Linked DNA regions of Homo sapiens: region 2 is linked to region 1. Evidence: promoter capture Hi-C in 16 types of primary human blood cells and fetal thymus (Javierre and others, 2016). All regions are on one chromosome and are shown on one strand. The core of a region is centred on a gene start or on the middle of the fragment in contact, and the rest is flanking DNA. Distances in the headings are between cores, read along the strand shown.

The links. The method cuts DNA at HindIII sites, captures the fragments that hold promoters and counts their contacts. A CHiCAGO score of 5 or more calls a contact.
Region 2: a contact is called between a fragment that was not itself captured here and the fragment with the promoter of CEP43 in region 1, in 2 of 17 cell types (erythroblasts and neutrophils). The highest score is 7.2, in erythroblasts.

Annotation. Positions count from the first base shown.
Region 1 is chr6:166,997,333-167,001,957 of GRCh38, forward strand. CEP43 (centrosomal protein 43) reads left to right here and starts at 2,065. Exons shown (of 13, transcript NM_007045.4): 1 at 2,065-2,182; 2 at 2,728-2,781. The coding sequence starts at 2,081. It overlaps MIR3939 (microRNA 3939), which reads right to left and starts at 580; the gene lies at 475-580. RefSeq lists an enhancer at 547-596 and silencers at 1,137-1,366, 1,657-2,176, 2,267-2,426, 2,437-2,526. The HindIII fragment of the contact is 9,184 bases long and covers 1-4,625 here.
Region 2 is chr6:166,717,826-166,722,450 of GRCh38, forward strand. It overlaps a transcript of RPS6KA2 not described here. Among named protein-coding and RNA genes, the nearest start is that of RPS6KA2, 93 kb to the left of the region's middle. RefSeq lists a silencer at 716-1,010. The HindIII fragment of the contact is 2,044 bases long and covers 1,643-3,686 here.

The DNA.
Region 1 (4,625 bases), core at 815-3,314:
TCCTGAAACTTCCTGCAGACCCCATGAGTGACAATCTCAGGGAGATGGAGTTCCAGAATCTGCTTTTTTTCATAGATGTTTCTTTGCCATTCCTGTGTATATCTGAGTTTCAGTAGCACTGCTAATCAATTGTTTGGGGTTCTCTCTCCTTCACCAGCATGTTCTTGCAAAACTAACCAAACACATATAAAGCGCAAACAGTACAATAGTGCACTGCACCTTCATGACCCTTACCTGTTCCAGCCTCTTCCTACCTCTTCCACATGTGATATGTGTGTACATACCCACAGACAGAAACACAGAGACATGTTTGGAAGCCAGTGTGGATGCCCTGTGATCTGTGTGTACACATGACAAGTGCATACACACGCACATAAAGGAACCCAGAGACGTGTTTGGAAGCCAGTGTGGACACCCTGTGATCTGTGCGTACACATTTGACACCTGCGTACACACTCACAGACAGAAACACAGAGATGTGTTTGGAAGCCAGTGTGGACATCCTGTGGTCTGCGCGTACACATGTGACAGGTACGTGCACGCCCACATACAGGAACACACAGAGGCCTTTGGAAGCCAGCATGGGCAGACAGGCCCTATCCCAAAGCGGCCGGCAGGCGTCTCCTAAGAATGGTTCTCGGACACACCTCTGAAAGGAAAATACAACTCGGCACCGCAGTTGACTCGGCCAAAGGAAAAAAACTTAAGCTGAAAGCTGAGGCCTGCCCGAAGGAGCCTTTCCTGTGGCGCCTGAGCCGAGGGCTTCAGGGAGAGGGCCGCGCATCGCAGCGCAGCCGCCCGTCTTCCCGTGGCTTCCCTACGGCCGCGGCTCCCGCTGCTCCTTTCCGCCGGCCACGCGGGTCGCACGACCTTCCCCTCCCGCCCACCCTGAGGCGCTGAAGCCCTCGACGCCGGCCTCGGGAAAGGCGCGGCCACCGCCCGTTTCGGATTCCCGTTTCCTTCCTCCGGGCGCGTCCTTCACCGTGGCCAAATCAGCCTCTCAACTGCTGGAGCCCGGCCTCGGACACTTCTCGGCTTACGCCGCCATACAGTGGCGCACCCCGAAACCCCGGAACCGACAGCTCGGCTGGCCTTGCGCACCCACACTCTCCAAGGCAGGGCTCGGTCCGGGGGCTGGTTTTGCCAAGGCGAGGGGCGAGGGGCAGCCCAGGCGGCCGGATGGATACCAAGAGGGCGCGTCAGCTCCGGCGGGACGGGGCTTCCAGGGCCCGGGAGGGGTCCAGGACTCCCCGCCGGCGCCTGGCTGTCGGCGGAGGGCCGCGGGGCAGGAGGGAGTGGAGACTGCGGCCCCAGTTCGGGCAGCGCGGAGCCCACCCAACGCCCTCCTCGGCCCTCGGCTCTTCCTGGGGCCATCCCGCCCCTGCACCTCGGCCTGGCACCTTTCCGGTTAGCCTCGGAGGCCGTGGCCGAGCAGGGTGCGTTCGCCTGGCTGGGGGGCCTCAGAACGTTATTTCCGGGTGACAACCTGCAGGGCCTTCCGCCCCTCGCGACCTCTCGGGAGTCCCTTCCCCGGCGCCCCCCCGGGGCTGCAGGGGCTGCAGGTTCGGTCTCGGGGCCTCCTTACCGCAGTCCGCCCGGCTTTAGGCTAGTGGGCTTTAACTACGTCGATAATATGACTCCGGCGATCTTGTGCGGCGATGGGATGCGGCCGTGGGCGGTGGAGTCCAGGCGGAGTCCGCTCTCCACACGCGAGGGCGCCTCCTCCTCACCGCTCGCCGGCTTCAAAGCTCGCGCCTCAGGCGACGGCAGCCAACGGGTTGCCGGCTGGAGGCCCCGCCGACGCCCCGCCCCTTGCGTGCCCACCCGCGCCCCGCAGCCCCGCCCCCAGCGCCGACCCTAAGTTTCGGCGCTCAGTGGTCCGGCGCTCCCCAAGGCTCGGTGTCCAGCGTCAACCCCGAGGTCTCTATGCCCCGCCTCCCGACGCCAGGGGGCAGGGCCAGCGCGCTGCGCGTCGGGGCGGGGCTTTGGCTGCGTCGGCCGCGTAGCCCGCGCGCGGAGCGTACCCTGCTGCGGCCGTTGGCCGTTAGCGCGGCTTCGGCGGTTGTCTTGGAGAAGCAAGATGGCGGCGACGGCGGCCGCAGTGGTGGCCGAGGAGGACACGGAGCTGCGGGACCTGCTGGTGCAGACGCTGGAGAACAGCGGGGTCCTGAACCGCATCAAGGTGAGGCCGGAGGCTGGGGCCGGGCCTGGCGGATCCGCAGGGCTTGCGTGGACAGCGGGCGTCACAACGGTCGCGGCGAGGAGGCCGCCTCCCTGGCGAGGGACCGGGGCCGGCGGGCACTGGGGGCGCGCCCCGGCATGGCCTCCGTCCTGCCCGCCCCACAGAGGGGGTCGGCTCGTTCGTTCGTGTGGTCCCGGAGGGCACCGCGGACTGGGGGTGCCTGGCCCATCCCCTGCCTCATTCCGTGGGGGCGGGACCGCGGGGCTTGGGGGCCACACGGGCGGCCCGCAGCTGGGCCCTGGAGTGCGGCCCCAGCGTCTCTTCCTCAGGCTCGGGCATGATCCGCGGCGGGAAAGCAGCGCGTCCAGCCGAAGCCTGGGGGTCGGAGAGCTTGTGTGACTGAGAACGTTTCGGAAGGCGTTTCTGACCTTTGCACCTGCCCTCCCAGCTCGTTGGCTTGCTCGTGTTTGTTGCTGGATAAATGTGAGCTTGTTGTGAAAATTGTCTTGAAATTATAATTTCCTGTTTCTTAACTTTTTTTTAAGGCTGAACTCCGAGCAGCTGTGTTTTTAGCACTAGAGGAGCAAGAAAAAGTAGAGGTATGAAGTTTCCAGATTTTAACATGGCTGTATTCGTTAATACTTAATTTCTTATTCATTAAAAACCGTCTTAAAAATAGTTTATAGTAACATATAGCTAGGGATAATTTTGAACTGTTAAGGATTACATTACTATTGAGAGAGAGCCAAAATTATTCTTTTTTCGTGTAGCTTTTGAATTTGGGGGTAATCTTAAGGTACCACAGTAACTCTGATACTAATGCTTAATCTGAAACAAATGGTCATAGGAGTTTCTTGAAGAAATGGTGCCATTGTCAATGTGTTAAGTGCAGGTTCACTCAGATCCTTTAGTAAGCTAATATGTTATTAATCCCTATGAAACGGGGTATATAGTATGCAACTTTTCCCAAAATTATCTGACCACTCAATTATTTTGACAATGAAAAAGACAGCGATTATTTTAAAAGTGCAGCCACTACTCTATATTTAAGTGGGTAATTTAACTTTTTCGGAGTCCCACCAACCATCCTGAGTAAATATTCTGGAATTTGTCAACAAGAATAGAACCATCATCAAAGCCTTAAACTCTTGCTGTATGACAAATCAGTCTACTGTCCTCTCACTTCTTTAGACCTGTATACCTAATCTCTAATTTCATCAAAATCTTCAGTTCTTTGCCCTTTCCATGTCTGTGCAGGCATCAGTCTTCTCTTGGCAGCATTTTGCTCTGGACCCTATGGGTCTGGACCCCTAATTACCTTGCCTTAACGGTCATACGTGGTCTGGAAGAAATCTCAGTGGTCATTTAACCCAGCAAACTAACTCTTCCCACTTTGCACATATGTGCTCTTGGAGAAGAGTCAGTCAATCCTGTGGATTGCTGATGTTGCAAATTGGCAGGTACCAACCTGGTTAGGTCCTGAGCAGGCCCAGCAGCTCTCTTCTTCACCCTAGCTGTGCAGTAGCCTTCTATGTCACCCCTGCTTCCTTCTCTCTGAACACATGGTCTTGTTGCTTCCTCCACAGGGAAGGTAGAAGCCATTAGATCCTAACTTTATGTCCTCCTCTCCTGTCCCTCAATCTATTGCTCACCTGTGAAAATGCTTACCTGTGTCTATGTTTATCTGTACCTCTTTCCTTACTGCTTTAGAAGAAGAGGCTCTGTCCTGTCCAAGAATAATCACTCTGTCTTGTGTATACTTTCAAGTCTTTAATTATTTACTGTATCTTTGACCCCTTCCTTTTCTGATGGCTTTTCTTTTGAGCTTGAAAACATGTTTAAATAACTATTAGGAGTAAACTGTTTTCCTTTACTCACATTCTGCTTTTAATACCGCTGTGGTTTTTTTCCTTCACAACCTGGTTTTGACCACTCCTTGGTTTCTTTAGCATGATCTTTTTCCTGTACACCTGACTGAGACTTATCCACAGTTGTCATTCTGTACTGTCTCACAGACTGACCTTATTCATCCAGTAACTCCAGCCCTGTAACTTTCATGCATGTTTCTTTCCCGAGCTTCAGACCTGTATGTTAAACTGCCCACTGTATTATGCCCTTAATGGGACCATCATTTATCTGGCAAGAAATCTAAGCGTTTCTTAGGCCTTGCTCTTCTTTCCACCTGCTCAGCCATCACCTGGCTCTGTGTCTGTCAGGTGTGTATCTGAAGTGTCCCCAAGGGAGTGCTCTGCTGCCTCCTTTGTGCTTGTTTCTTCTTTTCCAGATTGCCTTATCCCCTTCCTACTTGCCAGTCTCCGTTTCCGTGGTGTCCCTCACCATCTCCCTGAAGTCCTTTTTCCACATTGCTCCTAGATTGGCTGTTTATAGTACACATCTGATCTGTCCCTCCATTCTCTTAAAATATTTCAGTTGACTCCCTATC
Region 2 (4,625 bases), core at 1,415-3,914, 280 kb before region 1:
GTCATTTTTCTTTTTTCTTCTTTTCTTTCTTTTTTTTTTTTAGACGGAGTTTTTGCTCTTGTTGCCCAGGCTGGAGTGCAATGGCACGATCTCAGCTAACTGTAACCTCCACCTCCTGGTTCAGGCGATTCTCCTGCGTCAGCCTCCCACGTAGCTGGGATTACAGGTGCCCGCTACCACGCCCAGCTAATTTTTGTATTTTTAGTAGAGACAGGTTTTGCCATGTTGGCCAGGCTAGCCTCAAACTCCTGACCTCTGGTGATCCACCCACCTCGGCCTCCCAAAGTGCTGGGATTACAGGCGTGAACCACTGTGCCCGGCCCTATTTGTCATTTTTCTATGAAGGCAAAAGCAACTGTGCACATTTACCCTCACTTCCCCTTAAGTAGCTTTCTGAGCTCCAGGCACAAAGGGAACTAGGGAAGGTCTTATCTAGCACAGGGCACCATGCAGACTGGCAGATAGCAGTTATCAGAGGCTGGCATGGGGGGAGGTTAGTCCCCACAGTGCCGATGTAGGAAATAATGCTCAGCCTTATGTGAGGCTGTTTGAGTTTCCAAGGCACCCCTAAACTAATCCATCAGGAAGGCAGAAAAGGCTTTGGAGATCATTTTCCCCTTAAAAAGACTAAGCATTCCATGTTCGTTTGAAGAAAAGTAATAGTTGTAAGGCCATATCAAAATCTAAACCAATACATATTGACTTTTTTATCATACAATAAAATGCAACCGTATCTGAAAATACAAGACACGAGTATTTGTACACATTCTCTTTAAAGTGGTTAAAATAACTTGGCCCCCAAACATGAATTAATGAGGACATGCACCCGAGAAAGTAGCACATACTTCAATACAGACGTATCTGTAAATCTCACCCGCTGGTGTAAGATAGCTGCCCCGCACATGTGCACAGAGGTGACATAAACTTGGCAGGACTTTCAGATCGGTTATGTCTCAATAACTGACCTTAACTTAATGAAAAGTGAGATCCCAATATTTCTAAACACACCGAACAGCTCTTTTGCTTTTTCATGAACCTAGAGAGGGGTGGAACAGGCTAATTAGGTTAAAAGTCTAACCATTAGATTTTTTCTTATTTGTGTGTCTGTATACAGGCATATATGAGTAAGGATTAAAAACATTAACATTTAAAGGTTATTGACTTTGACAACAAGGCCAATATACTTGGCACCAGCCGGCAAACTTTTCTCTACATGTACAGGTAGCAAACATTTTTGGGGCCACACAACCTCTGTCACGCCTGCTCAACCCTGTCTTTACAGGGGAAACTGCCACAGACAACACGTAAATGAATGTGCATGGCTGCGTTCTTAGAATGCGTATTGGACATTGCTACCATTTAGTGAGCTCCTCTTATGTGCTTGGAATGCACTATTTATAAACTCTCAGGTTGGGAACATAATGTTAATTACATTATTCATCTTCCAAGCTCACTACAAAGAATAGGTTTCCACAAATGCTTATTTATGGACATTGAGATTTGAATTTCATACAATTTTTATGCATCATGAAATCTTCTTTTGACTTTTTTCCAACTGTTAAAATATGTAAAAATCATCCCTAGCTCACATAGCCAGAATGTATGCAAGGTTTGATATCAATGAGAGCTTTAAATGAATTTAAGCTTGTTTGGAAAGACAAGTAACCTGCAATCTCTCCTTCTCTGCCATTTTAACTGCCTTTGAACAACACATGTCTGTGACGATGTATCTATGAAAATACATCTATTTTGCATGGTCTTCTTAAACCCCACAATGGATACTCTGAAACTAACTCAGTGTTTGATCATGTATTATTAAATGTCAAAGGAATGATTAAATGAATGCATCTCCAACTCTACTCACTTATCATTAAAACGTTCATCAACGGAGGGATAGTCAATCTCACTAGTTTCAGACTGAAAGCCGACTACTTTCGGCTCAGGAACTGCAAGGGAGCATGATCATCAGTCTTGCATTGATCCCAACAAGCATCATCCTAGTTATGCTGATTAGAGTATATCTGGGAGATCTTATAAAGAATGTTCATATTATAATTTGCAAATGCTATGTGCCAACTTTCAACCACAGTTTCCAGAAGGAATTTCATGGCAAATTTCTGAAAGAGTGGCAGCTTTGAGATATGTGGGAGAAAGAAGTTAACTCTAAACCTTTAGCTGGCTTAAATTCCCAATTCAGAAATCTTCAAGCCCCAAAATACCCTGAGTGCTATTTCTTATAATTACTATTAATAAGACTTTCACTTATGTAAGGATTCCTCATTGAAATAATTCAAGGCACACTTTTAAACAACAAAACATTGTAAAGTGGGCATCTTTGTATTAAATTCCTATTCCTATTTTATTTTAGGTAATAAGTATTCAAATTTTGGTGAACCCTATACAACAATAACTACCATTTAGTGAGCTCCTCTTATGTGCTTGGAATGCACTATTTATAAACTCATAAGTTGGGAACATCATATTAATTACATTATTCATCTTCTAAGCTCACTACAAAGAACAGGTTTCTAATCATTATAATAAATGGAGAAATATGTCACCTAAATAAAAGAATGGATGGGTGATATTGAACACAGAATATCTGCAATGCACTTCTTTTCCCCAAAGGAACCCAGGAACCCAGATGAAAATCCAAGGCTCTCTGACTGCAGAAACGGAGCTGTCAGTCACCACCTAGAAATCTCTCCCCAAAAATAAAAGTGTAAGAGAAAGAAAGGCATTATCAAAGAATCTAGGAAGTCCTTGTATGAGAAACTAGCACTAAATAATTCACTTTTTGAGATAGTTTGAACATATTTCTAACTCTAAATAAAGGGAAATACTTGGTCATAAGAAAAATGACCTCTGTGTATTAAATGTCTAGTTTGTGCCTCGCATTTTACATTCATATCATATCCTCATTATGGACAGAGTAGCCCATTCCAATCACCCTTATTTTACTCAGAAGGAAACTCCGGCACAGCGAGTTTGATTTGTGCAGAGCAGCAAGGCCGTACCTGCCTAGCTGCCACTAAATCACAGGGAGCCTAGAACCTCCCACGAAGCAGGGATGAGCTCCTGTGTTTAATCTCAGATAGTTGAGGAGAAGACGCTTTGAGAAGCTGCATGTTTAACACTAAAGGGTGATTTCACAGTTAAAAGTCATCTTACATACACTTCACAGGAAATGGAAATGACCCCACTAGTCTGTGTACCTCTTAACACCTGAGTTCACACAAGCAAGTGCTCCATCGTTACTTTACAAGGTGACTAATTTCTTAACAATTTCACGAGGATCCCTACTTGAAATCTGTCACTCAGATTGGTGTGTCTAATGAAATGGTTTAACATCAAAACATCTATGGATAAGGACAAATAACACAGGAAAGGTGGAAAGGCGGGGGACATCGGGGGTGCGACTGAGGGTCTCCTCTGCTTGGATGGGTTTCCTCAAAAGACTGCAGCCTCCAACAAGAGAGGGAAAATACCGGAGAGGCAAAGTTACATCTGACAACACTTAGAATTCATCTGACGGCCAGGACCCGGGAGCACAGGCCTAGCCCAGACACTGGGTCCTGACGTGGCCACAGCCACAGCTGAACCCCCTCCATTGCCACATCCCTCCCTTGCCAGAGATTTTACCAGATGGTGCCTAGTAAAAGAATTTTAAAACTTCTAGAAGATCAAGCTTTCCAAATGGCTCTTTCTTAACAGAAACTTTCTAGTTTCACGAACAAAATCACAGATGAACATGCTAGAGCTTCGTAAAGCTAGGCAGCTTTCCGGGCAGTGCTGGGTGATCGCAGTGGGTCTGCGTCTGGGCCCCTCCTTCTAAGACCGAGTCTCGGGGACGGGAAAGATGCACAGCTGCTTCAGGAGCATTTCACCCAGTGGGCGGGCGGCAGAGTTAGCAGAGCTGGACTTTAACAGAAGCTCCCGCCCCACCTTGCAACCTCGCTCATCAGCTCAGCTGCTTCCCCCAGGAGGTGCCAGCTCAGAGGAGGAGCCGGTGCCAGCTCAGAGGAGGAGCCGGTGCCAGCCTCGGCCCCGGATCCAGATCCTCTGACTCAAAAATAGCCTGATTCCTATCATGCTTCCTCGCCGGCAGGGATACCACCATTTGTGCAAAATGTTTAGGTACACATTTCACACATATAGACTCATTAAAATAGTCCACTTTATTTGGAATGTCATAGTGGAGTAAATATAAATACAGTAGGAAAATATAACCAGAACCAAAATATAATCAGAATATAATACAATCAGAAAAATTAGAAATATAAGCAGAATAACTCAGTAGGTAAAAGCAGTTTGCATTTTAGGAGTTGGTGAAGAAAGTGGAGTGTGACTCAGAAGGTCCAATCATCCATCCTAAATTCCAGCCCTGTGTTCCAACCCCTGCATGATTCTGCCCCAATTCAAAACCATGCTGGAACGTGAGCTTGGAGACTGGAGATCCCACACACAGAAGGAGAAGCTGAAGACGCTTAGAGTGGAAAAGCGTTTTGTAAGGCGGGTCAGACACTCAACAAAGCAGGTGAAAGTGATGGAAAAATGGAGGAGCCGCAGGGGGTGGGAGGCACAGAGGGCTCCCCTTATCTTATTGTATTTTCCCTCTTTCGGTT